2 separate regions of the Homo sapiens genome follow, and region 2 is linked to region 1. Evidence: promoter capture Hi-C in 16 types of primary human blood cells and fetal thymus (Javierre and others, 2016). All regions are on one chromosome and are shown on one strand. Each heading gives the region's core, a stretch centred on a gene start or on the middle of the fragment in contact. The rest is flanking DNA. Distances are from core to core; before and after follow the strand shown.

What was found. The method cuts DNA at HindIII sites, captures the fragments that hold promoters and counts their contacts. A CHiCAGO score of 5 or more calls a contact.
Region 2: a contact is called between a fragment that was not itself captured here and the fragment with the promoter of TBR1 in region 1, in 1 of 17 cell types (M1 macrophages). The highest score is 5.9, in M1 macrophages.

The regions. Positions count from the first base shown.
Region 1 is chr2:161,412,199-161,418,866 of GRCh38, reverse strand. TBR1 (T-box brain transcription factor 1) reads right to left here and starts at 2,570. Exons shown (of 6, transcript NM_006593.4): 1 at 1,765-2,570; 2 at 1,037-1,191; 3 at 545-666. The coding sequence starts at 2,456. RefSeq lists enhancers at 1,822-2,444, 4,206-4,355 and silencers at 3,866-3,915, 3,986-4,155. The HindIII fragment of the contact is 4,993 bases long and covers 1-4,614 here.
Region 2 is chr2:161,984,337-161,991,004 of GRCh38, reverse strand. SLC4A10 (solute carrier family 4 member 10) reads right to left here. Exons shown (of 27, transcript NM_001178015.2): 27 at 5,735-6,668. Among named protein-coding and RNA genes, the nearest start is that of DPP4, 87 kb to the left of the region's middle. The HindIII fragment of the contact is 2,031 bases long and covers 2,102-4,132 here.

The DNA of each region.
Region 1 (6,668 bases), core at 1,321-3,820:
GCCGGGTGGCGTGTTAACGCGGTCGCTGTGCGCGTGGCTGTGTGCGCCCGGCTGCGCGCCCGGGCCGGCGGAGGCAGCCTGCAGCCCGCCTTCCAGGCTAACTGACCGCGGGACTCGCCTGGCTGGCGGCTGGCTGGCTGGGGCAGACCGGCTTTCGCACCTCTGGGAGCGAAGATAAGCCGGGGCACCGGAAAAAAGGGGGAAGCCGACCGCCCGATCCTCAGGGCCCTTCTCCTAGTCCTCCTGTAAGGAGGAACAAAGATTTCCACAACCTGCAGATCTTGTGGGGTTTCTTCTCAAAATCAATCAGTATTAGTACTTGGGAAGGTCGGGCACTCCAAAATTGGGCCGACGGAGGTGTTGCCAATGAGAACAACTTTACAGATTTAATATAAATTTGGAGGGTGGAAATACAATTTTTAAGTCTTTTTAATGAAGCAAAGAAACGTGTATCCAGTTCCATATGCTGCTTTACACTGACGAACTGGATGTCAGGGAGGAAGGGGTGAGAGAGAGAGAAAACACGAGCGCTTGAGCCACTGACCTGCCCATTGTTATTTGAAGCTCCTTTGTTGTTCGTAAGTTTTAATTTTCCAAAAGAGATTTCTTGGCGCATCCAGTGAGCCCCAGTGTTGGGGGAATCCGGATGCATATAGACCCGATTTCCTAGAGAAAGAAATACATTGTTTACATATGCCCCTGGCACTGCCCAGTCCCAGCTCCTCACCACGTAGGACACACACACACACACACACACACACACACACACATACACACACCTTACTCCACCATGAAGCCCATTAACTGGGGCTTTTTTAGGCCATTCTTTCTTCCTATTAACTGGGGGTGATTAAAATAGCTTTTGCATAATCCTCCCCCTTCTCGCAGCTCAGTCTGTCCCCCTGTCCCCCTCGTTTCCTTTTAGAAGTCATTGGCCGATCGTTTTAAAAGTCGCTCGAGCCAGTCCACAAAGGCTTTAATTAATCATTCTCACCTAAATAAGTGTCAAGAAAATGTGTTAATTGGAAGGACTTGCCTTGCACATTGGTGTCCGCTTTGCCGCAAGGAACCCATTTGCCTCCTTGAAACCTCCAGTGATTGGGATCCGCCAAAATCACATCCACAAAAATATTGTAATGAGCCGTGGGATCGAGACCAGAAATGTTAAAACTTAAAAAAGGAAACATGCGCCTATTTAAATTAAGGGGTGGGGGGAGAAAACAAGGAAAAAAGAAACATAAATGTTAAAGATTAAATGCAAGAAGCGGGGCGCCAGTTAGCAAAGCAAAACTTGTACTTGCAGCAAATAGGCGAATATTTGCTGGATTAGAAAAAGGGTGGTGGGAGAAGAAAAGAAGTGCAACCCAAATCAGGGAGAGCGGCGGGTGAGCTGGAGTGGGAAGGTGGCAGTTATCACTGCCCAGGTGGAGAGCGAGGTTGGCGACCTGCGTCTCCACCTGTCCGTGCATGCCAGTGTTGATGCGTCCCTCCCATCGCCCAGCCGCTGGCCAGGGCTCTTCCTTTTTCTTGCCTTCCTCTGGCCACTGACTGGCTCTCCCACTATGTTCCTAGAACGGGGTCCCCCCCACCAACATCACCCTGGCGGTTATCCCTTCCACTTTCCCCCTTTCCAAAACTAGCCAACTCTAGGGCGCCTTCCACTCCGCTCCCGACCCCAAATCGTCGCTGCCGCGGCAGTCACAGCCTAGGTGCACTTGTCCCCGGCTGCGCCTAGAGCAGCGGCAGCCAAAAATGTAGTATTACCTTCCCTGTTTGGTGATGATCATCTCCGTTTGGTGCCGGTGAAATTTCAGCCAAAGGGGCCTGTTGCACAGGTACACCTGTGCTTTGCCGGGCACCAGCCCCGGCTGGGTGGAGGAGAACTGGTAGAACGGAGCTCCTTGGTAGGAGTGGCCGTACTGCTGTGGGTAGGGGTAGCCGGCCGTGGGGTATCCCTGCGGCGAGGAGTTGGACAGGAGGCTGTTGTAGGCTCCGTTGGTGATGACCGGGTGGTGGGCCATGTAGCGGCTAGGGCTGCCGATGGAGAAGGCGGGGTGCGCCGGTCCGTGCTGGCCGGGGTACGGGAACATGGCACTGGGAGCAGTGGCCGCAGACTGTGGCTGGCTGGACTGAGAGAGGAGGTAGCGATCTGCAGCAGAGCCATCGAAACTGTGACGAAGCTCAGAGACCCCGTCCAAGACAGGAGAGAGTTTACTTCTCTGGACGTCCCCTGGTGAGTCCTTGGAGTCAGGAAAATTGTCTGTATCTGACTGATTCGTCATCCCCCTGGTAATTTTTTTCAAAGGTGAACTTCTCTCCAGGTTGTCAGTGGTCGAGATAATGGGATGATCGTGCAAGACAAGCTCGGATCCGCCTGAATGTGGGTAGCTGCTGCTCACATTGAGAAATTTCTTGGAGAGCATGATAGAAGGAGAAAGGCAGTGCTCCAGCTGCATAGCTCTAGAACCTGAACACTCGCCCTCCCGTCCCTGGTTTTTAAAGTCCTATTTATCATAAACTAGAAATCCACAGACCCCCTCACTAGACAGAAAGCACTTCAACCAGCAAATGCTTCTCAAAGGTTTGATTTACTTTTTTTTTTCCCTGGGAGAAGAGATTGGCCAATTGACACTATGCAGCAATCAGAAAAGGCTCACTTTTGATCTTGCTGCTTGTGCAGCCGATGAAACGGCTCCTGCCATTGGTTAGCTGCTGACAGTAATTTAATTAGATAGACATTAATTAGGATAATCACCTGGCTCCTGGTAGCGACGATCATGGCAAATTGAAGGGGATGATTTTATTGTTGGCTTGGGGGGTGGGGAATGTGTGTTGGTTTACGTGAGCACTGTTGTGTCACCTTTAAGCTCTGTGACCACTGCTTTAGGAAGATTCAAAGATGTGGAATTTACTAAACATTTCCTACCTTCCCCCCCTTCCCCCCTTTAGAGCGGAGGGGCGGAGGAGGGAATTCGACGATGCTAGGAGACTTTTCGGATCTGAATGAGCCAAATATTCAGTTGAATGTAACGATTTCAAGTGCAAAGTATACAAAGCGCGAGCCGGTGGCCTCTTCTCGCCCTGTAAAAGTTCCAGAGTCTGTCTTTTCCAGCTAATACAAAAGCACACAACACCTGAGCTGGTGCTTTGTGAGCAGATCCTACATGTCCTCGGCGCCCCCACCCCCACCTTTTAAACTGCAAACATAAATAAATAAATCCCTGCTGCTGAGAGCCACAGCGACAAGCAGAAGGGGGGAGGAGAGGGGGCGAAAAGCAGCAACTCACCCACCAATCCACCCACCTCAGGAAGGTTCGGTTTCTTGGTTGAGTACAGAAACAGTGACAATCTATGATCTCCTTTTTAAGTTTTGAAATAATCATAAGCTGTCGGGCTGAAATGCCTTAATGTATTTGCAGTGATGTTTACCGGCTCTTTATTAAATATTTTATCAGCGCACTTGGTTGCAGATTATCTGAAGAACATCTAACTGGGGGCAGGCGCCATGCATCCTTCTCGTCCCTCTGCATTTCCTTCTCTCTGAGGTACTGGCTTGGCGACAGGTTCAAAAGCCTCGCCAGGAAAAGAGAGGGCCGAGTCCCCGTGCAAATGGGCTCGTCAGAAGCGCTGATCTGGGGAGACAGAGTGGAAGTGGTGTCAACACAGTAATCGCTACTGAAAACGTGTGTGTGTGTGTACGTGTGTGTGTTTAATGTTTATATAATCTGGAGGGGAGAAAAAGCATCCATGCCAATAATTTTTAAAAGGAAAAAGAATCTAAAGAGGAATAGAAAAAAACCAATTTAAAAAGATGTTGGCACAAATAAATAGCACGAGGCCCGAAGAGACCCCGAGGTGTAGGGAGGAAGTCTCCCAGCACCGGCTCTACAGAGGAGCCCAGCCCTCGGCCTGAGCCAGAGGGCCAAGAGCGGCAGAGGCTTTTTATCTGCCCAAAGCTGCCTCCCGCGGCCCGGCGCTCGCTGACCTGCCCTCCCGCGGCTTTCCTCCCGGACGCCGAGCCGCGCGGGAATGAGCAGGAGGAGCGCCGCCCAGAGCTCCGCTCGGCCCCGAGAGCTGGCCGGCCCGAGGGCGGGCTCCGCCCGGGAGACTGAAGGAGCAAGGGGTGAGCTGCGTCTGGCGCAGACCCCAGGGGCACACGCTCTTCCCGGGCTGGAGGAGCGGCCTGGGCACCTCAGCCGGGGGAGCCTCTGGCTTCGAGCGAGCGCGTCTGTCCTACCCGGGCCGGGGCAGCTCCCGGAGTGAGAGCAGCGCCTGGGGACATTGGGTGGGTCCTGAGCATGGGCGGAGACGGGTTATCCAGACTCGCCGCTTCGCCACTGTGGTGCATTTTCAGAGCTGCGCCTCGGTGGGCCGAGCGGTCAGCGCTGAGCCGAGACTGCGCCCCTCCAGGCGGGCTGAGCGCCTTGGCTGCAGAGGGCACCAGCTGCGGCCTCCATCAACGCGCCGCGGGCAAGGCCCTGCGCTGGCGGCCTGGGCAGGGCAGGTTGTTGACCAGATGTCCCAGACTAAAGCCGAGACAATTTTCTGGGATAAAAAGAGAGCCAGACCCATTTTTCCTTTCGAAAGCAAACCTCAGCTCCTGGCCAGGAAGCTTCATAAACAAGCAGTCTTAGCTGTTGAATCGTTGGGGTGCGGGGGAGGGGAGTAGGGGATGCCATTTGACACTTGTTTTTCTGCCCTTGACCTTCTACTGCCATTTGCCCTCATGAGAGGCTTTTGACCTCTTGACTACTTTTGGCTACTTTTGTTTCCTTCTTTCTCCATCTTCAACTTCTCTGTCCCTGAGTGCCTCTCCCTCCGGTGCTTCGGAAGACAGTACTTTCCTCCGTTCTCAGTGGGACAGAGCCTTAAATGTGTAGAGGTGAGACATCACCTGGGCTCTTTTTGAGGCTTTGCCATTCTCGACACCCTAAACTGTTTTTTTTTTATGCTAAATTGAAATGTTAAGGTGTTAAAGGATAGAAAAGGGAAAGAGTGCACCTCCTTCAGAGTTTTTAAGGAATTGAATTGATGTGCTCTCTGACCCACTTTGGATTATCAGTACCAAATTCAGTGATTGCTCACATATAGGGTATGCCTTGAATTTATATATACTAAGGAAAATGAAGGCTTTCCTCAGAATCACCACATGTGCCTGTGAACCGTACTTCTAAAAGAAGGCCAGGGCTTCTCAAACCTTAAAGTGTATATGAACCACACCAGGATTCTTTATTATGATTCAATAGGCCTGGGGTGGGGCTTGCTTTCTGTATATATAACGAATTTCCATAAGACCCAGATGCTATTGGTCCAGGCAGATGACACTTTGAATAGTGAGGCCGGAGCTTTCAGTGCCCCCGTATTAGTCTGAGAGAAAAGCAGGGACATTTCTGCACTAGAGACAAACAGTTTTGTTTCCAGAGCTGCTTTACCTCTGCATGATGGAGGGGTAATTGCGTGCACATGTGCGCGCATACATATACAGTCTTAAACAGCTTACTAAGTTTGTGATTAAATGCATCTTTTCAGTGCCTAACTGGGCCTGGGACATCAGGCTGCTGCGAAAATAGCTGTACATTCCAAGACAAAGGTGTTCACTGAGCCTTGCCTCTTAGGGCATCTTGATTTTGATCGACTCCAAATCTACAAAAAGTAATGTAGGTTTTTGCTAGCAAAGATTTTGACAAGGTTCTGAAACTGGGAATGTCACCAACATGAACTAAGTGAGAGTAAGTGGTGTGTGGCTATAGGGAGTCCAGGAAGATGGGGTGATCAAATAAGGGCAAAAAAACAGGCAAGGTAAGCCTTTCCAGTCACAGGACTCAGGATATTTTCAGAGGACTAAGTAGAAAACAAAAACAAAAACAAAAAAACCCTTTCAACCCAAATATTGAGAATAGTTCTTGAAATGTTAAGGCCTTCTTCTGAGGGCACTGTACCCCCCAAAAAATCATTGACTAGCACTCATTAACAACATCTGTGAAATAAGTTATAGAATCTTATTTGCAAAGGGAAAAATCATATCCAAAAAGCCTGCACACAAGTTTGAATTAGGCAAAAGAAAATTTCACTAACTTCCACTTATATTTGAATTTTAAATGGTTAAATGTAATCCCAACAACTTAAATTAATACATATTACATGTCCTACATAAAATATACTGTCACTATATCTGAAACAGTAAACCACAGGACAAGCAAGAAATGCTCAGAATACTTCTTACTCCACCAAAAAAGATACTGTGAAACATACTGGGAATTTAAGCCATTTTGACTTTCAGTTTCTGGTAACTTCACTAGGGAACCAATAAGAGCCTAGACTTGTTCCAGTAGGACAGTAATTTGATCTATCACAGCACTCATAACAGTTCTAGTAGGTTAAGTTAAATTGCAAGTCCATGTAAAACATTCCTTTAATGAAGCTACAGTAATACTCTCACCATATTTTCACAAGGGTGCAGACTAGAATTAGATCTTTGTCTCTGTATCTTTTGCCATACAAATGGTATAATCAGTATGGTTCTGAACCGTAAGTAATAACAGGGGCAGTTACTTTTGTACATCACATTAGAAGTTGGTATTAGCCATTTTTTTTTCTCTATTAGAAAACTGGGTAGTCCTAATTTAGAAAAGATGAGACCAAACAATAGCAAAATTATTGCTTATAAG
Region 2 (6,668 bases), core at 1,868-4,367, 570 kb before region 1:
CTACCAATTGAACATGAGACTGGTGAGTCATGCATAGGAATGGACAGAGGATTGTGAAATCCATCTTCAACTACAGCTTCAGAGCATGCCATTGAGTCACTTCACCTTAATTAAATCTCAACTCCCACTCCTCCATTGGAACCACAAACTGACCTTCCAATCTGTAGGACTCTTCTTGTCAAAATTCTGTTTCTTAATACAGTTCAATCATTGTGAGTAGCTGGATCAATCTTTGCAGAATTGTATATCAAGAAGCGGTAGTAATATATGTTCACATCCTGGACAGCATTAATAGTCATAAAAGCAAATTAAATAGAAATTCTCCTTTTATCTTAATTGAAGCCAGACATTGTACAATGTCAGATATTGTACAACATCATATATCATACAAGTCAGATATTATAATCGTAATATCTAAGTCAGATACTATTTAATATTTATACAATATCAAAATGATATGGATTAATATTTCTTTAGTTTCTAAGCATGTGCAGTATTTTCTCTGGAGTGAGGTAATCCCAGCACATATTTTTCAAGCATTGAAGGCTGCAAAAAGTAATAATGTGAGTAAAGTCGAAGTAGTTTTCATTTGACCCTCATAGGACAAGTTTTCCTTTCCAATGAGAGTTTTAAATTAGCTTATGGAAAAAAGAAGAAAATGGACAAATAAGTTAGAGATAAACTTAATCTGAGAATAAGTTTAAAACATACAGGAACCAGTCATACCACTAAGATGTGCAGACTTGTCTTGACATTCATAGCTGCAGCCTCTGCAGACACAGGAATGGCTAAGACTCCTTTCATAACAACCTGTGAGAGTACACCAGTGCCCAGAGGCACATACACGAAAAGAAGGGAGAAATGGCTTACATCTCTTCTATGGATACAGGGTTGGTTTTTTAAGTTTCTATCAAGATTTTTAGAAAATCACTATGAATTATTTTTTAACATGTTTGTTGGAAATTTTGCTAAATATGAGTACATACCTTCATACTTTATTAAATATCAGGCACAGAATATAATTCAATGCATTCTTGATAACTCAGAGCCACTACCATAAAAGTTAATGAACATACTGGGCTTCGTGACATTCTGCATATTTTCTGTTTCTTTTCTTATTCACAGGTAGTCACTGAGGCTACCAGTTCCACTTCTTGGCATTTGCTACTTTTGCTCGAAGTTGATGTGAGAATACTGATTTATAAGACTACTAGATTTGTACAATATTTATGATTCAATAAACTCTAAATAGAAAACACAACAAAACATAAGCATGACTTTTTTCCATAAAGTAAGAGGATTTTGTTGGCCAACTCTGTGGCAGTTATTTCAGCAGCGTCCAAGAACTCTTTTGTGTACATCCTGAGTGACCTAGAGTGTGTATTCAGGATGTCTGAGGGATACAGATGGTTGAGAATAATAGACAAGTGTGGGTTATAAAGTATAACATCACAGCCAGGCATGGTGGCGGCTCACACCTGTAATCATAGCACTTTGGGAGGCCAAGCGGGGTGGATTGCCTGAGCCCAGTTCGAGACCAGCCTGGGTAACACGGTGAAACCCCGTCTTTATTGAAATACAAAAAAGTAGCCAGGCATGGTGGTGTGCTCCTGTAATCCCAGCTACTCGGGAGTCTGAGACAGGAGAATCACTTGAACCCGGGAGTCGGAGGTTGCAGTTAGCAGAGATCGCGCCATTGCACTCCAGCCTGGGTGACAGAGCGAGACTCCATCTCAAAATAAATAAATAAATACATAAACAAAGTATAACATCACTATCCCATGAGGAAAGCTCAGAGCATGGTATGAATGGACCAATATTATGGCCCATAGAAATGTATCATCTTTCTGCACAGTCTTCTTTCTGTGACAATATTAACATTTACACCCAAGAATTTGAATTAATAGTTAACTTCCTTAATTGAGAGAAAACTTTTTTTTTTGGTGCTTACAGGCTTTAAGCCTCAACAAACTCGATAAAAATTCTTATTCTATATAGTCTTTCATCTGAACCCACTCTTCAAATTATTTAAAAAGCATGTGTGAGTGTGGTGTGAAGTGTGACCATCCAACAATCAAAAACCCTTTTTATTTTTTAAGCTTCTTCTATCCAAGGTCCTGATATTTGTGACTCATGAGCAAAAAAGGTGTTTCACTGGGTAAGTTTGGTTTCCAGTGTTAATAACAGAAAGATTGGTGGCAAAGAAAATGTAACATATTAAGCAGAAATATTAATCATCATAACCTGATTCTGGTTCCATGAGCCAGAATGAATAACCTGATAAGGAGGAAGGCGGTCACATCTCACCTCCTGCTGGAGACACAGTGCCCTGCAGCTGAGGTCAGTTGGACCTGGGTTAGAGTCTCAGTACCACCAACTCACTAATGGGGAACATTTAAAGAACAATACTTAGCCTCTTTGAACTCCAGTGTCTTAATTTGTAAAAAGTACAAAAAGACCTACCTTACAGAACTGGTTGCATTGCTCTGAAGATTTACATAGATACAATGCCTGACACCTTCCTTTCACCTTTTCCCTCCTTCTAGTCACAACCATGTAGCTGCTTCTTAATGGCTCCATAGATTACACAGATTCTTGCCTTAGTCTTCTGTGTCCTCAGGTGCTGGGCACTTGAAGGTACTCATTAAGCATTTGCTGTGTTCCAATACTGACATGTCCGTGACAATTCTTTTTGGACTTTTAATCATTCTTAATAAACTGAGCAGCAGGATCTTCTGGTATATTTTACTTATTATATCAAGAGCCTTTGCTGGCTGGGTAAACAGCAGAGCACAGATCTGGGCTCTGGAGAGTTACAAAAGAGGGGCAAAACACCAAACACCATCCCTACCTTCAAGGAGTTTATAAATAAATGGAAAAAAGAAGTCACATGAAAAAAATATTTAACTCTACACACACCGGAAGGCAAGAGGATCCAGACAGAAAACTGAATCCAGGGTAAGAATGTAGGGTAGGATTCAAGGCTGGGCGGAGAGAAGGTGGTTTCTGGATTATTATGAAGCAGTCATTGTCTGAACTGTGCACCACACTTAGGTTTCTTTAACAGTCTCAGGCTTGCTGTGGACACTGTGCTTTTCAGAACACTTTTTTTTTTCAAATGTAACTATATACACAAATATGTGCTATATATATATATATATATAAAGAACAATACTTAGGCTCTTTGAACTCCAGTGTCTTAATTTGTAAAAAGTACAAAAAGACCTACCTTACAGAACTGTTGCATTGTTATGAAGATATATATATATATATATATATATATATATATATATATATATATATATATAAAATCTCCATATATAAGGGAATGCACTACATAAAAGTAATTATAATTAAGCTATTGTGTCTAGAGTTACGGGTTAGGTACCTAAGGAGTATACTTGAGCCTGTTTCGTTTCTATCCTAATAGAAATTTATAGATCATGAAAACTTAGTTTTGTCATCTGAGAGTCATCCTGGAAGGGAGATCCCTGAGGAGGCAATTCCACTGTTTCCCCACTATATTCTCTACTGTGCTGCTCTATTAATCATTTCAAAATTCATTACTCAAAACTTTTAATGGGTAAAATTCCAACAGTTCTAGGATAGAATTTAACATCATTTGTAATGTCTCTGACTTGTGTTTCTGTCTTTTCCTACAAGTCTTCACTACCCTTCTAACACTCCACCATATTGGGCTGTTTGCTGGGTTCCAAATATGCCATACATAAAATATGCCAGGCTCTAGTTATGCCATATAGCTTTACTTTTAAATTTCATCTTTATTTCAATACCGACATAGGTTTGAGAATCTTTGTAGTTCCGGTGTTGCTGGAAAAGGGGTCCTGATCCAGACCCCAAAAATGGGTCCTTGGATCTTGCAAAGGAGAGAATTCAAGGAAAGCCACAGAGCATAGTGGAAGAAGTAAGTTTTTCAGAAACCGTTTCGTTACAGTGTGGGATATCCTCTGAAAGCAAAAGGAGGAATGCCCTGTCCTTTGTTAGCGCCTCTACTTTTATAAGGAGTTACAAAGAGCTACAATTAAACTTGGAATGTGTCTATGTGCTCACTAAAGGCAGGGGCCTTCAGTGTCATTGATATTACATGACCCTTAATCTTTTAACCTAAGCTTGTTCATTAACGTTATCTCTAAGTAAGGAGGGCTGAATTCTTAGGACATAGGGACATTCTGCAGGCATGGTGGGAGATGCTCTGTATGGTCATAAATATTCTGTAATAATAGGTTGTAGCCAGCTTGGAAAGTGGCTATTTTCAGACCACAAGCATTAATCTTATAGGTGCCTTAAGAGTGTTCTAGCTCTTCACTTCAAGATGGAGTCATTCTGGTCATACTTCATTAGACCAGAGGCCTAGTAGGCAGGGGTTCCTTCAACATCTGGAGTACATTTCCTTCCCCATTTCCATTCTAATTCACATGCTACCTCTACTATAATGTTTTCGTCAAACTCTGCCCTATTCAAAAAATGGCTTTACTCATATGGCCAACTCAGCACATATCACATTATTTACAGCTATGTATCCACCCTGCCCTTAGAAGCAAGGATCATAGTCCTATTTTCAAAGTTCCAGCAGAAATGATAGTACCCAGTACACCAACAGGAACGGAATTGGTGTGACAGTTGTATCAGTTAGCCACAGCATTCCATGAAGAACATCGAAGGAGATCTCTAAAATAAAGTATTACCAGTAATCTTTGATTATTAAGCCTCTTCAAGGGGACTAACTACAATTAGCCTCTTGATGTAGACATTTAGAGAACCATCATATTATCCAAATGACTCTCATAAAACTTTCAAATGGATGTAATCTCATTTCATTTCATTGTGTGAATATATGAGATAGATATTAATATATTGGAAAAATGAGAGAGCAATCTTGCAATGATAGTAAAATAGACAAGTGCCCAGGAGCTAATAGGCTAAAGTTAAACCAAAACAGAGGTAGGTCAGTGCCATAGAAAACAGGTAAGTCACACTTCTAAGAGTCAAGAAAAATCCAAAAAGATCTAGGAATCATGTTGAAATACAAGTTGCTTTTGGATCATCAGTGGAGAGTTTCTTTCAAACTCGGGTTTAAACTATACCAAGGAGACATTCATCTATACAGGATATATAGGATATCCTATACATACATAGGAATATATATATTCCTATATTATATTATACAGGAAAAAAACTTTCCAATATTGTAGGCTGTGAAACAGGAGCAATTACAAAGTAAACTCACTAGTCAAGAGAAAAATACCAAGCAGTAGGTTAGATAGAATTCTGAATGCAATTATCTCCACAACACACTGCCAGATGGCTACCAAAGAATAATGGTCCCATCTGACTTTTGTAAGAAACAGGGAGGAGACAAATTTTAGGCAATGCTTTCCCCATGGAAGTTAAAAACGGAAGTCTAAATAGAGTTCTAATAATGAGGAATACTACTACTAACGACCTTGGAGGTTTTTCCTAGCATAAGAAACCGTGTCATCTGCACCCATTTCTGGAAAAATGAGTAAATATATCTTTATATAGTTCTCATAATCTTCTGTTCATAAAGTTCAAATTGTTTACTCTTGAAACATACTCATAAATTGTTTACATCACCAAGAGTTCTTAGCTTTGGGGCTGTCTAAATTTAAATATTATATTCAAACAATCAAAATGTTTTACACTGATTTACTAATTAAAACAAAGAAAAAAGACAAGACACTTTGTATCACAATTTAAAATGTGCAAGGAAGTTAGGATAAATATTTATTTCCACATAACATTTCTTAATTGTGAAAAACACAATATCCTAGTCACATTTACACATTATTTAAACTTGGCACTAAATTACATTCAAGATATTTAGTAATTTTGACCAGGAATCTGAAATTAGAAGTAAATATATAATACTACATTTTTATTATATTTTATATGATTTCAAAATATTAGGATTAACATAGGGATAGCTTTAAAATTCACACAAGAACAAAATGACTATAAAAATACTCAGAAATACAGAATTTCATTGGATATGATTGCTTATTCAAATAGGTGATCATGTGAAGATTTAAATTCACTATGATCATTTTTAACAAAACAGTTATTAATATATTAAAACACTAAGAGGCTGCTTTGGGGAATCACTGGCTAAATCATAAAACAATGGAAATGTTTACAATGTAGTATCTGTATTATAAAATACACAAAGGCAACACATTTGGAACAGAAAGTTTCTGTATTTTTTCAGCATTTATAAATACAAACTTTATTAACTTAAAATTCTTCTTTCTATAATTTTTAGGCTCATGTTCCATAAAAAGGGGGGCTCCTTAAAGAATTGTGAGGGGAATTTTTAAAAGGTCTCAAAATGTAGAACTTAATGGAGACTTTGTTGATTTATTTCCTCCCATTAGTTTAATCACAAGAGGAACTTTTCTTCACTTTTCATGTGCACTTCCAACAGAGTACATAATTAACGGTGTGTAAAAGCCACAGGGCTCTGAATTATTATAAAACGGAATATTGGAGTATTATAAAGTTGATGATTACTACTCATTCTTAGGAACCAAGAGCATTATGAGATTTAGTTTTATTAACTTCACATTCATTGAAAGTGAAATCAAATACTGTACTTTTAGTAATGTCCAAAACTTCATAACTTTCTCTCC